Regions from separate parts of the Homo sapiens genome. Here all the other regions are linked to region 2. Evidence: promoter capture Hi-C in 16 types of primary human blood cells and fetal thymus (Javierre and others, 2016). All regions are on one chromosome and are shown on one strand. The core of a region is centred on a gene start or on the middle of the fragment in contact, and the rest is flanking DNA. Distances in the headings are between cores, read along the strand shown.

The links. The method cuts DNA at HindIII sites, captures the fragments that hold promoters and counts their contacts. A CHiCAGO score of 5 or more calls a contact.
Region 1: a contact is called between the fragment with the promoter of TPI1 here and a fragment that was not itself captured in region 2, in 2 of 17 cell types (non-activated CD4 T cells and activated CD4 T cells). The highest score is 7.4, in non-activated CD4 T cells.
Region 3: a contact is called between the fragment with the promoter of CDCA3 here and a fragment that was not itself captured in region 2, in 4 of 17 cell types (non-activated CD4 T cells, activated CD4 T cells, naive CD4 T cells and 1 more). The highest score is 8.8, in non-activated CD4 T cells.

The regions. Positions count from the first base shown.
Region 1 is chr12:6,866,269-6,870,626 of GRCh38, reverse strand. It overlaps TPI1 (triosephosphate isomerase 1), which reads right to left and starts at 3,096. Exons shown (of 7, transcript NM_000365.6): 1 at 2,946-3,096; 2 at 1,640-1,763; 3 at 1,444-1,528; 4 at 1,237-1,369; 5 at 854-939; 6 at 491-578; 7 at 1-362. The coding sequence starts at 3,060. The coding sequence ends at 244. USP5 (ubiquitin specific peptidase 5) reads right to left here. Exons shown (of 20, transcript NM_001098536.2): 20 at 3,995-4,358. RefSeq lists silencers at 2,490-2,929, 3,200-3,249 and enhancers at 3,519-4,180, 4,181-4,358. The HindIII fragment of the contact is 21,039 bases long and covers 1-4,358 here.
Region 2 is chr12:6,490,739-6,494,926 of GRCh38, reverse strand. It overlaps MRPL51 (mitochondrial ribosomal protein L51), which reads left to right and starts at 1,665. Exons shown (of 3, transcript NM_016497.4): 1 at 1,665-1,869; 2 at 1,955-2,065; 3 at 2,460-3,041. The coding sequence starts at 1,791. The coding sequence ends at 2,656. NCAPD2 (non-SMC condensin I complex subunit D2) reads right to left here and starts at 825. Exons shown (of 32, transcript NM_014865.4): 1 at 773-825. RefSeq lists a silencer at 868-1,197 and enhancers at 633-1,230, 1,398-1,447. The HindIII fragment of the contact is 539 bases long and covers 1,861-2,399 here.
Region 3 is chr12:6,849,565-6,854,244 of GRCh38, reverse strand. CDCA3 (cell division cycle associated 3) reads left to right here and starts at 2,959. Exons shown (of 6, transcript NM_031299.7): 1 at 2,959-3,023; 2 at 3,236-3,412; 3 at 3,649-3,778; 4 at 4,387-4,680. The coding sequence starts at 3,293. USP5 (ubiquitin specific peptidase 5) reads right to left here and starts at 2,095. Exons shown (of 20, transcript NM_001098536.2): 1 at 1,955-2,095. The coding sequence starts at 2,065. RefSeq lists silencers at 1,104-1,153, 2,124-2,233, 2,904-2,953 and enhancers at 1,434-2,073, 2,344-2,393, 1,497-2,457, 2,464-2,743. The HindIII fragment of the contact is 8,619 bases long and covers 1-4,680 here.

The DNA of each region.
Region 1 (4,358 bases), core at 1,847-4,346, 370 kb before region 2:
CCAAGGAGAAGCCACCTTGGTGACGTTTAGTTCCAACCATTATAGTAAGTGGAGAAGGGATTGGCCTGGTCCCAACCATTACAGGGTGAAGATATAAACAGTAAAGGAAGATACAGTTTGGATGAGGCCACAGGAAGGAGCAGATGACACCATCAGAAGCATATGCAGGGAAAGGGCAGTTACTGGGCTTCTGGGCTGCTTAGTCCCTGGCTTGGCAGGAAGGGTAGGGAAGATGGATGGGGCTCATTGTTTGGCATTGATGATGTCCACGAATTCGGGCTTGAGGGAAGCACCACCCACAAGGAAGCCATCCACATCAGGCTGGCTGGCCAGCTCCTTGCAGGTTGCCCCAGTCACAGAGCCTGGGAAGGGAGCAGAACAAGGGCTTGGTCAAGAATGGGATGAGTCTGCCCCATCCCCACCTCCATGTCCGAGGGCTCAGTCTAGTCCTCAGCCCACTCCACCTCAGCCGGGAACCAAAGCCACTCACCTCCATAAATGATACGGGTGCTCTGAGCCACCGCATCAGAGACGTTGGACTTCAGCCATCCTCGGAGCTTCTCGTGTACTTCCTGGGCCTAGAACAAGAAGCTGGCCTAAGTAAGACCTTTTCTGCCTCTCTAAGAGGAAAAATCACTGGCACCAGTGGACACTTAGTGTGGTTTCTGACTGAGTCAGAGTACCAGGGCTCTGATCCAAGCCAGGCCCTGGACTGGATGCCCTTGGACAAGTCACTGTCTCTGGGTTCAAGGTCTCTGTGTCTTTGAAATAAGGGGTTGCCCCATGTGGGCTGTGTCTGTCCAAACCTATTGAGGCAGGCTGGGATGAGGGCAGGGCTCCTGGGCCCGGTTACCTGTTGGGGTGTTGCAGTCTTGCCAGTACCAATGGCCCACACAGGCTCATAGGCCAGGACGACCTTGCTCCAGTCCTTCACGTTATCTGCAGGGCAGAGATACAGATGGAGGGAAGGGTGAACAAGAAAGAGCTCTCCAGCCAGGTTCTCCGGAGTACGAAGAACGGTGGCCTACTGCCCCCTAGTGGACATTGGGGGATTTCCAGGTGGCATCTACCTTGGGGCTGGAGAAGTCATAGGCCCCAAGCAAAGATTGTCACTCCCCCTCCCCTTTTTCCTTTTCTGGATCAGCATGGGGACCAAGACAGGCTCCAGGGCCTGACCCTACCCTCTGAGTCTCTGTGGCCCTGGATAGGCTCAAAGGTCCCTTTCTCCAGAGATACCTGCGATGACCTTTGTCTGCTCGAAAACAACCTTCTCAGTGATGCCAGCTTCCCTTTCATCTAGCTTCTCCCCAATGCAGGCGATTACTCCGAGTCCCTCTGCCAGAGCATGGGCCACTTTCTGCCCAATCAGCTGTTGAGAAACAGACTTGGTGAGACATCCTTCTTGGAAAAAGACATCCCTTATCTTCTCTCTTGGCTACTAACCTCATCTGACTCCCCAAAGACATGCCTTCTCTCTGAGTGCCCCAGGACCACCCACGTGGCTCCGCAGTCTTTGATCATGCCAGGGCTAAAGGAAGAGATGAAGCCAAGGTTCAGCAGGGAGCCCACCCTGTGGCTTTCCCCTCAACGAGGAAAGTGAGGGAAGGGTCCCACACACCCCTCTCCACCTCGATCTCACCTGATCTCCCCAGTAAAAGCCCCATTAGTCACTTTGTAGCAGTTCTGCGCAGCCACAGCAATCTTGGGATCTAGCTTCTGCCGGGCGAAGTCGATATAGGCAGTAGGGGGAGCACAAACCACCTCTGAGGACAAGATGGTACCACAGGGGGATGAGACTAAAGAAAGCCTTCATTCCCCACAATTCCTAACCAGTGCCCTGGAGCCCCCCAGCCCTCACCCTCTTCTTCTTGGTTCTGCTCTCCCCCTTTTCACCCCAGCAAGATGACCTTTGTCCATTTTCCAGCCCAGGCTGGGTCTGCACTCAACTCGAAGAGCCTTCCAGATACCCCTGAGAGGCCACGGCCCTCACCCTGCCCTCTGCTCTTTTAACAGCTGGGGCTCCAATTTCCTCGAGCTATTCTCGGCATAGGCACCTCACAGACTCAGCATTCTCCAGGGAGCAACCCTGCTTCCCTTCTAAAATAGCCCATCCTCACCTCCCCTTTGCAAGGCAAGGATTTGTAGCAAAAGGAGAGGGGCCAACTCCTGGGGTTTGTATTGAGGCCTCTGGGGAATGAACGAGAAGGGGATGCCTCTTTGGATCAGGCCCGCGGCTCTCCGATTTCGGTGGAGGGAGGAAGGAGGATGGAGGAGAGCATCCTTTGCCCGTGGGTGGCAGAGACCTAACTGACTCAGAGGCCTTGCGCTTTGCTGTTTCCAGGTTGGGGAAAGCGGTAGGATGGCTCCTCACTCCCAAATCGCTCAGCCTGTTTGGCACGGGCTCGGTCCCTTCCGTGGAAGGCGGGAGTCGTTCAGGTTGCCGAAGGGAAGGGGTCAGATCTGGGGCTCAGGGAGCCCGAGCAGCTCGGCGCGGGGACGCGGACGCCGGCGAGGAAGGGGAGGAGTCTGGGGCTACGTGCGGCGGCGCACGGCGCGGGAGGCCAGGGCGCAGGGAGCGGGAAGCCCACGCGGCCCAGCCTCCCCCGGTCTCCCGCAGAGCCTCGGGCTCCGCTCCTAACCCCGTCGCCTGGCGGGCACAGCCCCAGTGCGCGCCCCGGGGCCACCTTCCTCCAGGAGACCCAAAACGTCCTTACCTGCCCCATAGTCCAAGGGGCATCATGTGCTCCGCCCTGCCCCCTCGACGCACCGACGGGGCTGCGGCTGCGAGGCCCCTGCCCGGACCCCAGCGGCCCTCGTCCCACAGCCCTGCATCAGGTCCGCGCGGATACCGGCCTCGGGGCCTCGGGGCCTCGGGAGAGGGCGCTGCCACTCCTGCCCCGGCCCCGGCCCCGGCCCGGCCAGACCCCTCCTCGGCGAGGGCTTACCGGTGTCGGCCGGCACCTTGGCCGCGTTCAGAGTGCCGATGAGCTCCCCCAGACTCTGCTTCCGCCCGTTCATCTTCCAGTTTCCCCCAACGAAGAACTTCCTGGAGGGCGCCATGGCGCTGGAGCCGAGGCGCTGAAGGTCAGTGTCTGCGCGCAGTCGCGGCCACTGCCCACTTATATAGAGCGCCGCGAAGTGGAACTCCGCCTCCTCGCCGTCCTCCGCCATGGCCCGCCCAGTCCCCCGGAGCCCTGCCCCCCGCCCGCCCTCCTGCCGCCGCCCCGGCCGCCGCCCGATGATGCACTGTTCCGACGTTCCCCCTTCTTGTGGCAACGTTCTAGGAGAGTCGGGGGCTCGGTCGCCTCCGCCTCGATTGCGGGGCTTTCGGGACAAGGCGAGACCTGTGAGCTCCGGCGCTCAGGGGAACCCTCGCTTGGCGACTTGAGTCCCCCACGGGGCCAGAAGTGGTTTTCAAGCGGAACTAGCTGGTGGCAACTTGGCCGTAGCCCAGATCGCCCACTGGGGCAGAGAGGGCCCCTCTCCAACTGTGGGATAGACAACCTCCTTCGCCCATCGGAGCAGCTCATGCCCGACTGCTGAGCAGGCACCCTTGTACCCAGGGAGTCTACCTGAGTGAAAACTTGCGGGACAAATGCAGGGTTCACAGCGGGAGGGGCAGCCCACACAGGCATAGGCCGCCAGGATCATCCCAACCCTCGCCCCGGCTGGCAAGGCCTGGCAGGAACTGCAGGGACTGAGTCCCAGCCTGAAGCCAGCTAGCCAGTTAGGGACATTTGGGAAATCCTCCACTCCTGTGTGAATAAAGAGAGGGAAGGGTTCTTCACTCCATCTTTCCTTGGCTTTGTGTCGGCATTTAGTCACTCTACTCCACCTCCCCACCCAACCCCAATTTTCCTAGAGCTCTAGAACCAGTGAAAAGTGGAGACTTGACTTTGGCAGGGAGGCGGCCAGAGTTAGGAGTTTTCTTAAGCGCCCTCCTGCTAACCCCAGGAAGGTAAGCCTCTCCCCCAAGGTATCAAACAGGACACAATTTAGCCGTTGTACTTTTATTCACATCGTGTATTTTGGCATTTTCCAGAGAAGGACAAGGAAGAGACAGGGTGGGGGAAAGACTGAGGCAGGAGGGCAAGTCGGGGGGTCCCTATTTCCCTCACATCCCTCCTTGACCAACCACACAGGGGCAAACAAAGGGGGAGGGGAGGCACAGGTGATCGCTCCACTGGGAGAGGATGCACAAAGCTACACCCACGCGCACAAACGAGACCCCTCCCTCCACACCAGGGGGCTGGGCGGGGCGACACAGAGAAGCAGAGCACTGTGGATTCCGGGGGCAGGGGAAGCAACAAAGTCTCCTTACAGACAGGTGGCCGGCCCCTCCCGTCCCCGTCCTGCTC
Region 2 (4,188 bases), core at 881-3,380:
CCAACATATATAATGGTTTTTAGTTTTATAGCAAGCTAGTAACATTATCTTACGGGATCTGAGATTGACCCTGGACTAGAAACTAATTCTAGTAGTGACTTTGGCACTTGGTCTTGACACTTAAACCTCTGGGCTTTATCTGTAAAAACAGGGTTACTAAACTCTGATTACTTCACAAAGTTGCTCTGATGATCAAACAAATCAAGCAGTACGAAGGTGTTTAAAGAACTATAAAGTGGCATATTAATGTGCAAAGTACTATTATTTCCATTTTTATGTGCAAAGCTCCTTAAGTATAGAGAGAATGGTCTGATCTCGTCTGAGGCCAAAACAGTGCCCCAGCATGGGCTAGTGGGCTTCCTGCACCAGAATGGTAAGAGCATTAACAATGATGATTTATTTATCCTGTGCCAAGTCTGTTAGGCTGTTTGCATGTATCATATCTGATCTAAGTATCCTAACCTCAATCCCATGAGGTGCATAATAATACAAATGAGTTTACAGAGCGGAAATTGAAGTAAGAAAGTTAAGCGATTTGCTTAACATCTTCCGTTGCGGATCTGTTAAGCGATTTGCTTAACATCTTCCGTTGCGGATCTGTTAAGCGATTTGCTTAACAACTTCCGTTGCGGATCTGTCAGACTTACAGTTTCTCACACATCGCGCCCCAGGGATATACTTACTAGGCCTATTGTATTTTGCCCAAGACTGGGTCACACTGCCATGTACTCGACTTTCCTACTCTTTTACGACCTGCAACACCACATCTTACCTGGGGATCTCACCCGCGGCTCTGATTCCGGCAGTCAGGCTGAAATGAAAAGGAAAAAACACGCGTGCACAACACGCACCAATTAGCAAGGCAGTTTTCAAGTCGGCGGAGAATCCGGCCAATCCCCGGCAGGCAGAGGCAAAGGGCCGCCTCTGAGTCTGGCAACGCGCGGGCAAAGCCACAAATACCGAGTTCAAATCTCAACGGCTGCAGGACGGCCAATCGCGACGCCCGCCGGAGCGGCCGGCCAATCACAGCGCCGCCCGGGGGCGGGCCAAGGCTCCGGCTCCGGCCCCCGCTCCCACCCCCGGCCCGCCTGCGAATCCCTCCTTGGCCGCAAGGTCCCCCTTTGCCCAGTCGGCGGGGAGGAGGCCGTATTTCTGCTGGCCAGAGACGTCGCGTCCCTGGCTGGGCATTCAGTCACCCCCAGGAAAGGAGGCAAGTCCACGCTGGGAGTTAGAAGGCATCGCCTCTAATCCAGGTTTCGCCATCTCCTCTGCTAAGTGACGTCCAGCAAGTCACTTCACTTTCAGGACCTCAAATCTCCTCCCCAGTAGTAAAATAGGGGTAATAAAAACAGCTACAGCGGAAGACTGTTGTGAGGCACAGAGAAAGGGCTTGGTCATTGGAAGCGGGTTCCAGGTTCTCAACCTTCATTTCCTTCACGGTTGAAGGACGCCAAAGAAAGCGGAAAGGGTGAATTTTCTTGAAATCTCAGTTTTGGGGAATCTTAGCGACGAGTCGCGGACCTCAGCTTGTCCGGCGCTCCAAAACTTCCGGCAGGCGGACCGGAAGCACTGAGGCGGGAAGGGTGGTAGAGGCCCCTCCTGCCGGAACCCGGGGGGCGGGGCTCGTGGCTGTTGCGGATGGGGCGTAGGTGGGCGGTGCGCCCACAGCTGCCTGGGTAAGGCCCAAGATGGCTGTCTTCGCCTTAGTACTCGTGTGAAGTTGGCGGGGACGGTTCCTGTCATCTTCTTGGGCTTATTTGGTGTGCTGTTGAAGGGGGGAGACTAGAGAAATGGCAGGGAACCTCTTATCCGGGGCAGGTAGGCGCCTGTGGGACTGGGTGCCTCTGGCGTGCAGAAGCTTCTCTCTTGGTAAGTGGCTGATGTAGGCACCCCGATAACTGCTTCGTAGTATAATAGGCGGCTCAGATTAATTCCCTCCCTTCCCCATCCCCAGGTGTGCCTAGATTGATCGGTATAAGGCTCACTCTCCCGCCCCCCAAAGTGGTTGATCGTTGGAACGAGAAAAGGGCCATGTTCGGAGTGTATGACAACATCGGGATCCTGGGTAAGACTTGACCTTCGACGTGGTACACAATTTCAGAATGGCAATTAGGCTGTAACGACTATCTTTTCCTCCTGTGTAGAGAGTGGTACTGTGCTCAATAGTAAGAGCAAACACTTATGTAGCTGTTTACATTGTGTTTGGCACTGTTCTGAGTCCCCTCGTATAATTTTTACTTCATAAGTAAAAATAAACAGTTTTTCCAAAGTTAATAAATGGCAGCATCAGAATTTTAACCCCAAGCAGTCTGGCTCCAGAGTCTGTGCTATTGTTCTGTACTGTAATGTTCCTTGTCTATAGGTGCTGCTCAGCAAGATGCAACCGTGGGTTGAAAGCTTAGCTGGTGTAGGATGAGTTCTCTTGTCTTGGATCTAATGTGTTCTCTCACATTACACAGGAAACTTTGAAAAGCACCCCAAAGAACTGATCAGGGGGCCCATATGGCTTCGAGGTTGGAAAGGGAATGAATTGCAACGTTGTATCCGAAAGAGGAAAATGGTTGGAAGTAGAATGTTCGCTGATGACCTGCACAACCTTAATAAACGCATCCGCTATCTCTACAAACACTTTAACCGACATGGGAAGTTTCGATAGAAGAGAAAGCTGAGAACTTCGGAAAAGGCTCATCTGTCACCCTGGAGAAGGGAAACTGTACTTTTCCCTGTGAGGAAACGGCTTTGTATTTTCTCTGTAATAAAATGGGGCTTCTTTGGAATTTGATAGCCACATACTTTTGTTTTCCTCTAGATGCTGCCTCTACTCATGTAGACTATGAAGTCTTGACTCATCCTAGATCTTAGGATCTTAGGTTTGGGCTTCACACCACTTGCCTTTTACAGTCTAGCTATACCTAATTCCTTTAAAAAGAAAAGTTGGTGAGAATGTTATTGGCGCTTTTTGACATAATGCTGTTATGTTAATAGTGTTTCTAAAGAGCCTTCCACACTGAAATGAAATATAAGAGAAAAATGGAGTCATACTTCTGTACTACTCTCATAAAATATTTATTAGGCATATTCTCTGAGTAGGAACTATAGGAAAAACAAAAAAGTGTGAGGTGTCCTTTCCATTTAAATATGAAACATTAAGTACCATATGAATGGTAGAGATGGCGGATACTAAGCCTGACTGGTCATCAGTTTTCTGGGTGTTTTAACATTTCAAAAGCCTAGTCCTAACCCCTAAAGATTGATCAGTAGAGCTGAGTTGAGTCTAGGGCATCTATGTGTTTTGTTCTTTTTTAATAATAATTTTTAAGAATTACAGCTGGGCAGAATGGTGCCCACATGTAATCCCAGCATTTTGGGAGGCTGAGGTGGGAGGATTGCTTGGAGACAGGAATTTGAGACTGGTCTGGGCGACATGGTGAAACTCCGTCTCTACTAAAAATAAAGTGGCTGGGTGCGGTGGCTCCTGCCTGTAATCCCAGCACCTTGGGAGGCGGAGGGGGGCGGACCACGAGCTCAGGAGATCGAGACTATCCTGGCTAACACAGCCCTGTCTCTACTGAAAATACAAAAACAAACAAACAAAAAAATTAGCCAGGAGTGGTGGCGGACACCTGTAGTCCCAGCTACTCAGGTGTCTGAGGCAGGAGAATCACTTGAACCTGGGAGGTGGAGCTTGCAGTGAGCCGAGATCGTGCCACTGCACTCCAGCCTGAGCAACAGAGCAAGACTCTGTCTCAAAAAAAAAAAAAAAACAACTTAGCTGGGCATGGTTCTGCATGCCTGTAGTTCCAGCTACTCATGGTTCTGCGTGCCTGCAGTCCCAGCTACACAAGAGGCTGAGGTGGGAAGATCACCTGAGCCCAGGAGTTTGAGGCTGCAGTGAGCTGAGATCATGCCACTGCATTCCAGCCTGAGCAACTGGGGTGAGACTGTCTCAAAAAAAAAAAAAAAAAAAAAGTGAAGTTAGGGCTGGGTGCAGTGGCTCACACCTGTAAGCCCAACACTTTGGGAGGCCAAGGCATGAGGATTGCTTGAAGCCAGGAGTTCAAGACCAGCCTGGGCAACATAGCAAGACCCCATCTCTATATTTTAAAAAACAAAAACTCCATAAAAGTGAAGTTAGATTAATAAATACTTGTTGCGGGGCATGGTGGTTGGAGCACACTTATAATCCCA
Region 3 (4,680 bases), core at 1,710-4,209, 360 kb before region 2:
TCCCAACAAATCACCAATCTCAAAGCCATCCCGTTCTGACAACAATCTCGCAACACTTGCTGAGATAGCTAGAACACACATAACCCGTGAAAACAGGGACAGACGGGTGTCCACCCAGAAACACAGCTGAGAAGGGAGGATGGGCTTCCCCCAAAGCTGACCAAGTTTTCCAGTGCCTTTGTAAAGAGTGATGGAGAAGGTGGAGGAGGAAATTGGAGACAATAAGGGTCTTCCCTCAGATCCAAGGCTTTGAGCAACAACAGACATCCTCTTCCAGGAATAAAAGTCTCAGTGGCCTTGAACATTTCTCTGCTGTGATATGAAAAATAGTGCACTGTCTAAGGTAGTTCTTGGTCCCATAGATTGCTCTGTACCACTTCCTAGGAACAGTGTGTACTGCAAGTTCATGAACAAATAGAGCATTTCTCACCGGGGAGGTCAACTAAGCTCTTTCTACCATGAGCCCAATTTGAAGGTAACCAAATATGCTGGAAGTTGGTTAGCAAAGAACTAGGGCACACTGAAAATCTCTTGACTTGGGGTGAAAAAGGGAAAGTTTCAGAAGATTACAAAAACCCTTTTTGGATTATTCAAAGCAGTTACTAAGGAGAGAGACAGGAGTGAATAAAAGTGTAAAGAGGGACCCACTGACTTCTACCACCTGCTGGTAATTTAAGAAAAACCTTTCCCTCCTGGGAAGAATGTGGGAGCTCTGAAGTGATTAAACTCCTCTGTTGGAAATTAAAGATGCTGATTTCACCAAGGATTGGGAACCCCGGAGCTCTGCTCCGCGCAGTGCTCTTTTACCTCTGCCAAAGCCAGACTTCAGAGAAGCAGCACATTGTCTGAGGCCCAGATCAAAGCCTAGCAAACCAAGCAAACCACAAATCACAGTGATGATCCTGAACTGGGCCTCACATCATGCTGTTCTACTCAGTACTGGTGATGCAGTAATGAAGGCTTTCCACTCTGACTTGCAGTTTTCAGGCCATGAGCTGGTTCTGGCAGAATACACTGGGCAGGGCACAGCAGCTTGAGGGGAGGGGTGGTGAGGGGGGCGGATCCCAACCAAGCTGCTGCCTTCTCAGTTCAGGCCCCAAAGGGCCTCCGCTTGAGGGTGACATAGGGAAGGCAGAACTGCAGGAAGGGAGGTACCAGGTGGAGCCTGCAAAACGTGAAGCATGGTGTGGGAGGTGGCTTTGTGTAACTAGCCAAGAGTGGGAGCGGGATGGGAAAGAGGCCTTAGCATCCTCCGAGAAAGAAACCACCTCTCTAGGAATACTTTAAAAGGGGTTATCTCAGCTGTCTGTGATAGGCTGGGGGGCGGGGGGAAGGGTGGGGGCTGCGGCCATTGCTCACTTCAAAGGAGAAACGACTAGAGCTTTCCTCTCCTCTTTCCTCCCCTCCCCGCCCCCTGTCTGTTTTAACCACGGGGTGGAGGCTCTCTGCCTTTCTCAGAATCGGACTTCTTGAGAGTCCACTCCCAGACTATTAACCGCCTAGGAACTGCGGTCCCCACCCCCCAACTCCAACCCCGGCCGAGAACAGTGGGGAGTCGTCCCCATCACTCCTACACGAGACTACAAAACCCGGAGAGCCGTGCGCGGCAGACAAGGCCGACTGCCAGGTTTTCTCAAGGGTCCACTTGGGGGATGTAGTCCGACGGTCGGGCTGCGCCCCTAGCTTAGAACGGCAACGAAGGCAGTGAGTGACTACAATGCCCACAGTGCTCCACGAAGCGGGGAGCCGGAGAGGTGAGCGCGGCGGCTTCCGGGGACGGTAGTCACACGACAGCCGCAGTTAATGAAAGGCAACGGCAGAGTGGAGCGTGGGAGACTACAAGTCCCATGGTGCATCGCAGGGAGGCGGTAGCCCAAGCCTTGCAGGCCCCAGCGGAATGACCAGGGCGATGGAAGGAAGTCGTGCTCGTTGCGGGCGTGGGGAATGGGCTTACCGGCGTGTCGAAGGAGAAGGCGCACTCGTCTTTGTGGACCCGGTCTCCAGCCTTAGGGACCCGGATCGTCGGTAATACTGACAGCAGCGCCTCCTCACTCAGCTCCGCCATGACACCGGCAGCAGCTTCTCCACACACGGCGGCTCCCACCGTTCCCAGTCCCCTCCCCTGCCCCTCCCGTCCAATGAGCGCCACTCGTTAGGGGCATGCGCCGCGGAGACGACGCGCGAGAATGGCAGTTGGACGGAGCCTGCCTGCCGGTGCTCCGCCCCTGCCCCGCGCTTGACTGACGCCAATGAGAAGCGCTCCTAAGGCAATTGATGGTTGAAAGAACCAATCCCACTCCTCCAGGGCGGGAGCGCACGTAGAGCAGCTAGGTGGGCTTCGGGGTTGCAGCTGCTGCGGCTCCGCAGCTGCTCCGGCTCCGGGACCCTTAGAGTCCATTCGCGTGCCTTCTATTGAAGAGCAGGAACTGACGGTTGTTTTAGGCCTCTCAATTCCAGAAAGTTTCCTGGGGACCTGTCCGGTCGGAAAGTCGAGGGACAGTTGTCTTGGTATTTGTAAAGGGGGTATCCAGTGAGGCGGAGCTTGAGGGGGTTGTGTCGAGTGACTGATACAGCTGTCAACCAATAAAGCTACTATCGCTCGCCTCAGGAAAACCATCACAACTCCAGCTGGATGTGCGCATAATAGTGTAATCACTCATGATTCTATTTTGTTTAATAATTCGTTCTTGAGACTAGACGTCTCGAAAGCGAAGACTGGCACTCCTCAGCCTGCCACGGACGGCTCGCAGGCCGATACTGAACAGAAGTACCCTTATCAAGGAGGCGTCACCCCTGGGCAAGCCTAGCATCAGTCCATTGACACCTACAGTCACCATGATAGACGTTCTCCCAGACCAACAGCTTCCTTTGGCTCGAGGCGGGTCTTACGTGGAGGGCCTATGGGAACTACGTCGGCTCAGCCAATAGGGTCAGGGCAGGGGGCGTGGCGGGAAGTTTGAAACTGGTAACTTCGGGAGTTGAGCCACGAGCTGTTGTGCATCCAGAGGTGGAATTGGGGCCCGGTAAGTGATTTGAATAATTTAATAAATAAGTTAGAGGGCTCAGCAGGCCCAGAACGAGCCATTTTGTCAGCTGCAGCAGTCATTAACTCCGCAGAGGCCTCTGGTCCCTCGCCAGGAAGTTTCTTCACTGGAAACTGGGAAGACAGGGTGGTTTAGGGTTGAAGGTCCGACGTGGAAGAGATAAGGGCTGAGACCTGAGTCACTTCTCACAGGCATTCCCTCCTCGTCCCGGGCTGGCCCTTGCCCCCACCCTGCAACTCCTGGTTGAGATGGGCTCAGCCAAGAGCGTCCCAGTCACACCAGCGCGGCCTCCGCCGCACAACAAGCATCTGGCTCGAGTGGCGGACCCCCGTTCACCTAGTGCTGGCATCCTGCGCACTCCCATCCAGGTACTCTGGGCCAGCGTGGGAAAGGCAGAGAATGTCTGAATTCTTGGGTCTCTTCCTAACCTGATTTTGAGAGAGCCGTCATGACCCCACCCTTATCCTAGCCTTATTTTCTGCAATCTCAATCTGTGTGGGGTAGGCTGGATATCTGAGGGCCTTGGCAATTCCTTCCTGGAATATGGGGAGGAGAGGAGAGAAGAGTCAGGGCCCAGACTTGTTCTAGCCTATGGTCTTGACAGGTGGAGAGCTCTCCACAGCCAGGCCTACCAGCAGGGGAGCAACTGGAGGGTCTTAAACATGCCCAGGACTCAGATCCCCGCTCTCCTACTCTTGGTATTGCACGGACACCTATGAAGACCAGCAGTGGAGGTAAGCGTTGGGCCCAGGGAATGCTGATGAAGCTGTCATCTATTATTCTTGGGTAGGGTCCATGAAGCCATTCTCTCAGGGTTCCTTAAAGGGGCCTCTATCCTCCTGCTTCGGACCCATCTCACTCTTATCTCAATATTTTGTTCCCAGCCTGGGTGCGGTGGCTCATGCCTGTAATCCCAGCACGTTGGAAGGCCGGGGTGGTCAGATCGCTTGAGCCCAGGAGTTCAAGACCAGCCTAGGCAACATGGCAAAACCCCATCTCTAGAAAAAATACACACACATAACACACACACACACACACAAAAGCACGGTGGCATGGGCCTGTGATCCCAGCTACTCAGGAGGCTGAAGTGGGAGGATTGCTTGAGCCCACAAGGTCAAGGCTGCAGTGAACTGTGATCACGCCACTGCACTCCAGCCTGGGGGACAGAGCAAGCCCCATCTCAAAAAAAAAAAAAATTGCTCCCTTTCACCTTGATTTCCTTGATTTCTCTCTTCCCACTTGCTCACCCTCCTGGGCATGAGTCCTGGGTTTCTGTATGTTTTGCTCCTTGCTGAATGTTGTGTATCAGAAGGTCACTGTTCACTTCACTTTCTTCCTCTAGACCCCCCAAGCCCACTGGTGAAACAGCTGAGTGAAGTATTTGAAACTGAAGACTCTAAATCAAATCTTCCCCCAGAGCCTGTTCTGCCCCCAGAGGCACCTTTATCTTCTGAATTGGACTTGCCTCTGGGTACCCAGTTATCTGTTGAGGAACAGATGCCACCTTGGAACCAGACTGAGTTCCCCTCCAAACAGGTGTTTTCCAAGGAGGAAGCAAGACAGCCCACAGAAACCCCTGTGGCCAGCCAGAGCTCCGACAAGCCCTCAAGGGACCCTGAGACTCCCAGATCTTCAG